2 separate regions of the Homo sapiens genome follow, and region 2 is linked to region 1. Evidence: promoter capture Hi-C in human tissues and cell types (Jung and others, 2019). All regions are on one chromosome and are shown on one strand. Each heading gives the region's core, a stretch centred on a gene start or on the middle of the fragment in contact. The rest is flanking DNA. Distances are from core to core; before and after follow the strand shown.

Region 1 (2,809 bases), core at 146-2,645:
CCTCCAAAGTTAGCAGCAGAAGCAAGATGAAGCTTAGGGGTGTGGTCTCCCAGACTCCTCTTATGCCACCATCTCTCTAAAAACCAGCGATACCTTCCACCTGAGAAGGGCTTCAGAGCCCACCAGGCAAGGAAGGGGTGGCCAACCAGCTTCCAAACATCCGTCCCAAAGACGAGGCGGGAGTGTGTTACTGGCCAGAGGTCCCAGAGTGCCCTGTACTCCCCCGGAGGCTTTGACTGAAAAGAGGCCCCAGGTCCCTGCCTGCCCCCAGCACCTCTCTAGCCCCTTTCTCCAACACCACCTTTGACTCAATCCTCCGCTCCTTTACGCAGCTGTAAAGCAAGAGGGAAGATGGGAGACGGGAGATGGATGCAGTTGGCAAAAGATAAATCGAAAGGCTAACTTGAGCAAGCAAGCAATTGGTGCTGACTCCTCTACAGGCAGAGGGAACCCGGAGTGGGTTATGCGAAGGAGGGAAGGCCAACAGGAGCGGCAGGAAGCTAAGGGGAGACTCAAGTGAGCTCAGCCCAGAGCTGTAGCAGGGGGTGGGAAGTTTGGTCCAGTCACAGGGGAATGACTGGGGGTAAGAAATGACTTCCATTCCAAGGCAGAGAAGGAACAGGAGAGAGGAGAGACGAGGTTCAGACCAGCCTCCACGGGACTGGCGCTTTGGCCAAGTTTCTGGCTTCAGCCGTGCCTCAGTTTCCCCAAAGTAGGAAGGTCGAGCCGTGAGAACTGGGCCACTGAGGATGGTTAGGGGGCAGTGCCAGGTAGGGGAAAGATCACAGGGGAGAGAGGAAAGAGGAGCTGATGGGGCAGACAGGCTCTGGCCAAGAGTGGGGCCGGGGTCTCCCAGGTGGAGCAGAGGCCGGGAGACCCAGGGTTAGCGGTACGAACTAGGGAGTGGACTGGAAGTCGGGACCAGGGCAGAGAGCTCTTCCGAGGGCTGGGGCTGGGGCTGGGGTTGGGGTTGGGGGCTGCCGGCAAAGGAGCGGAGCGGGAGCCCTGGGAGGCTGGGAGCGGCTGGACGTGCAAAGCAGAAGGCGGGGATCCGGAATGAGGCCAACGCGCGCGGACCCCCGCCCACACGAGGGAGCCCGGCGCCCCGACCCGGGGGAAGTTGCCGGGCTGGAACGGGCCGGTCTGGGCCGCTGGGCCGCGCCAGCTGCCCGCGCAGGGGAGGTCTGGGCAGCCGGGGGCCCGGGGCGCTCTGCATCCCGCCCGCCCTCATCCCACCCGCGCACCTCAGTCAGCGCCCGGCGCCGCGCGGGCCATGCTCGCCGCTCCGGCCGCCGCCGCCGCCCGCGCAGAAAGCCGTCGCCGCCGCCGCCGCCGCCGCCGCCGTCGTCCGGACCCGTTAGCTCGCAGCTCTCTCGTCCGCCCGCCGTGGGCTAGTCCCGCCCTTGCCTGGCCCAACCCTCCCCGAGCGCCGCCGCCGCCGCCGCCTCAGCCCGGCCCCTCCCCCCACCCCTGCCCGGCTTGAAGGGAAGGGTGGGGGACAGGGGCGACTGCCCCCACCCCATTCACATCCTCCCCGTCTCTCCCTCCCTCCGCCCCCCGCACGCGCGCCGGCATGCTGGGATATGGAGTCCAGCGGGCGCTGGGTCGCTAGGGGCGCCCCGCATCCAGGACTACATCTCCCAGAAGACAGCGCGCGCATCCCAGGGATTGTGGGCTTTGTAGTTTCGCTAGGGCTCAGGGGGTCCGCCGTGCAGGAGGGGAGACGGAGGGGGATGGGAAGTCTTCATTCTCAGAAGGCCGGGCTCCAGCGGCTGGAGCAGACGGCCCCGAGCCGGGTTGGATACGTGGGTTCCTAGGGAGGTGCACACTAGCCGAGGACGCCTCTCAGATGCTGCTGTGGCCAGCTGCTGACGAGCCCGGCCGGAGGGCACTGTTCCCACTCGCGCTCTCAAAGAGCCGCGACCTGAGGCCAGCTTGGCTTCACGCCCGGGCTCTGAAAGCCCGAGCTGCGGTGGGGCCGCTGCGCCCTGGCCTGAGGGGAGAGAGACCCCATCAGCGGTGCGAGCGGGGGTTTGGCCTCGCTGGACTTTGTGTTCCCCACCTAGGAAAAGAGGAAAAGGGGGCAGAGTGTCTATTGGTTCCTCATCCACCGGGGCATCTCCCCCTTGCAGGCTCTCTCTTAGATGCCCGTAGCTTCCTGCTGTTGAGGGTAAAGTGAATGCATTTTAAATATTTGCCATGTCTTTTATTAGCCCATCCTTTCCCTAACTTCCGCACCTATTTCAAAACCTTTATGAAACTCCAGGTAGACTGCAGTTTCGCCCTCCAACAGGCTGAAGTGAGGCTGAAGTGGTTCTGAATTTTTGGTGTGTATGGGATCCTCTTGGCCAGCTTGTTTAAACGCAGATTGCTGCCCCCACCCTCAGCTTCTGGTTCTTTTAGCTCTAGGGCAGGCCCCAGAATTGGCATTGCTACCCCGTCTCCAGGTGTTGCTCATGCTGCCGGTTACTACCTTGATAACCTGATAACCTCTGCTGTTGGTGTTTGCTGCTAACACACCGGTATCCTCTTTCAAGGATGGCCCTTGTGTGGGATAATTAATAATGGCCCTGAAGAGCCAAACCCGGAAAGGCAGGGTCCCAGTCTAGTCCCCTTTAGCACAGGAACGCTCTTTGTTTTTGCTCAAGGTCTCACTGTCGCCCAGGCTGGAGTGCAGTGATGTCATCACGACCCCAGCACTTTGGGAGGCTGAGGCAGGTGGATCACATGAGGCCAGGAGTTAAGACCAGCCTGACCAACATGGCAAAACCCTGTCTCTACCAAAAATGCAAAAATTAGCTGGGTGTGG
Region 2 (2,930 bases), core at 210-2,709, 1.3 Mb after region 1:
AGAAAGAAAGTATACTGTTACTTATGAGCAACTAGTAGAGCTCTATTAAAGAAATTCTCTGAACCATTTTCAAAAACTGAAAACCAACTGATTACTATTAAGGTGAGCTTATTTCTTTGAGAAGAGATAATAAAAATATTGCTTAATTTCAGTTTCTAAAGCTATTTTTCATTTGGCTGCTTCATTTAAAATGCCTCTATTTTTCTATTCATACTTAATAACTGTAGCAGTAAATGTAGGTATTTGGTTTCAACAAATGCTCTTACCTCAGATTTCAACTTGTGTATAAATTAAAATGTCTAAGCTTCTCCCCTACCCCCAAAAACCAGACCTTTAATCTAGCTTTTTTTGAAGTTGCATTTTAATAAGATGCCACTAAGCCACCTGATGTCTCTGGGTTCCATTTGTTATTTACAAAAGAGCAAGGAAGTTAGACCAGGCATTTTCATTGATCTCTTCTCTAACTATGAGTCAGAAAAACCTAAAGAAACAAAGCAGAATTTTATTTCGGGAAATATGCTTACACTTCGGCTCAGATATTGGCTACAAATGTGCTACTCACCTTCTGAGGGTTCAGAACTTTAATGACTTGTGTGATGGTCCCCGTGTTAAATGCTGGGACAATGCTGCTGCTAGGAGACAAGAGCTGCAGCTGGAATGTCTAGGGGGGAACAAAGGGCACTCTTCAGAAAAAGAATTACACAACGCTAGGTCAGAGATACCAAAAACCATTTAGACACCCAGATGATGGGTCAAGCAACAGATTTCACTACTACTAAGTTTTGCCTACTACTTGTTTTCTAGATATCAGGAATTCACAGCACGTGAGTTGACTCCCTGTGGTATTTGTAAAAATCCACTGTTCGGTTCTTTGATCATGACAACTAGTAATAAACCACATTCTCCTTTCTGGCAGAAGGAATTCTAGCCTACCTCTTTTCAAAAGCTGACCAATTCTTCTTCTGGCAACTTCACTTAATGGTAACTGATCAACTATGCAAGTAAAATATCGGTGCTTTTGGCTTAAAAAACAGCCAGAAAGAAATGAAAAGAAAAGCTTCCCAAAAATAGCAAACCAACATACTGGTCACCAACTATAAGCTTTTAGGCTTTTGTGTGATTGGATAACTGGGATGCAGAGACTTGAACTTTTGTTTTTTAAAGCCTGCATAATCTATAATGTGTCAGAGCCTCCTCTCCACATGACAGAAGGAACGGAAAGACTTGCAGAACCAGCCTATACAGCAAAAGACCTAGATAAGCCAAACAGTATTAATTTGTTGAATGCTGGTGGGGTTTATTTGCTTGCTTATAGAAATAAGAGTTGAAAGTGCTGGCTGGGTGTGGTGGCTCAAGCCTGTAATCCCAGCACTTTGGGAGGTCAAGGCGAGCGGATCACGAGGTCAGGAGTTCGAGACCAGCCTGGCCAACACAGTGAAACCCCGTCTCTACTAAAAATACAAAAATTAGCTGGGCATGGTGGCACATGCCTGTAGTCCCAGCTACTCGGGAGGCTGAGGCAGGAGAATCGCTTGAACCCAGGAGGTTGTGGTGAGCCGAGACTGTGCCACTGCACTCCAGCCTGGGCAACAGAGCAAGACTCCGTCTCAAAAAAAAAAAAAAAGTGCTATATAGGGCAAGCTAGGTAAACCATACTGTACTACGTAGCTATTGTATGAACTAGCATTTGAAAATCTTTCCTAAAAGTAGATTAAACTTCTAAAATATTTGAGAGAGAGAGACACTAGTCTTCTCTAGGGCCAAAAGTTGCAAGAGTGAAGATTCACTCTCAATGTACAGATATATTACACTGGGGGCTGGGCACGGTATTCCCAGCACTTTGGGAGGCCAAGGCGGGCAGATCACCTGAGGTCAGGAGATCTAGATTAGTCTGGTCAACATGGCAAAACCCCATCTCTACTAAAAATACAAAAATTAGCTGGGTATGGTGGCGCATGCCTGTAATCCCAGCTACTCAGGAGGCTGAGGCAAGAGATTTGCTTGAACCCAGGAGGCAGAGGTTGCCTGGGTGACAGAGTGAGACTCCATCTCAAAAAAAAAAAAAAAAAAAATATATATATATATATATATATATATATATGGTCTTATTCATAATTCTGCCACATTAAAATTATGTAAGCTAAAGTATTATTCATTACTACCATATTTCATTAAATGTAAGATACCAATCGTAATTCACACCATTATTTTATGTACCACTGAGATAGAAAACATGCTGCCCACTGAATTATGACAAGATACCAATTTTTAAATGTATCCTAATTTTAGAAACATTAAAACACGAAATTAGTACATAGTAGAACCTATAAAATATGACTTTTTTTTTTTTTTTAGATGGAGTCTCGCTCTGTCGCCCAGGCTGGAGTGCAGTGGTGCGATCTCGGCTCACTGCAAGCTCCATCTCCCAGGTTCATGCCATTCTCCTGCCTCAGCCTCCTGAGTAGCTGGGACTACAGGCGCCCGCCACCACGCCCGGCTAATTTATTATTTATTTATTTATTTATTTATTTATTTATTTATTTATTTATTTATTTTTTGAGACGAGTCTCGCTCTGTTGCCCAGGCTGGAGTCCAGTGGGGTGATCTCGGCTCACTGCAAGCTCCACCTCCCGGGCTCACGCCATTCTCCCGCCTCAGCCTCCCAAGTAGCTGACACTACAGGCGCCCGCCACCACGCCCGGCTAATTTTTTTTTTTTTTTTTTTTTTAGTAGAGACGGGGTTTCACCGTGTTAGCCAGGATGGTCTCAATCTCCTGACCTCGTGGGATCCGCCTGCCTCGGCCTCCCAAAGTGCTGGGATTACAGGCGTGAGCCACCGCGCCCAGCAAAATATGACATTTTAAGTTGAAAATACATTATCATGTTGCACTGTACAGTACACCACCAAAAATGTCATGTTTTAATAGCAG

What was found. The method cuts DNA at HindIII sites, captures the fragments that hold promoters and counts their contacts. A contact is called where the count stands out against the background at its distance.
Region 2: a contact is called between a fragment that was not itself captured here and the fragment with the promoter of ST3GAL2 in region 1, in 1 of the 25 tissues and cell types used here (dorsolateral prefrontal cortex).

The regions. Positions count from the first base shown.
Region 1 is chr16:70,437,705-70,440,513 of GRCh38, forward strand. It overlaps ST3GAL2 (ST3 beta-galactoside alpha-2,3-sialyltransferase 2), which reads right to left and starts at 1,396. Exons shown (of 7, transcript NM_006927.4): 1 at 1,245-1,396. RefSeq lists silencers at 1,068-1,267, 1,368-1,547. The HindIII fragment of the contact is 4,621 bases long and covers 1-2,809 here.
Region 2 is chr16:71,734,047-71,736,976 of GRCh38, forward strand. AP1G1 (adaptor related protein complex 1 subunit gamma 1) reads right to left here. Exons shown (of 23, transcript NM_001128.6): 22 at 563-661. Among named protein-coding and RNA genes, the nearest start is that of PHLPP2, 11 kb to the left of the region's middle. The HindIII fragment of the contact is 3,526 bases long and covers 1-2,930 here.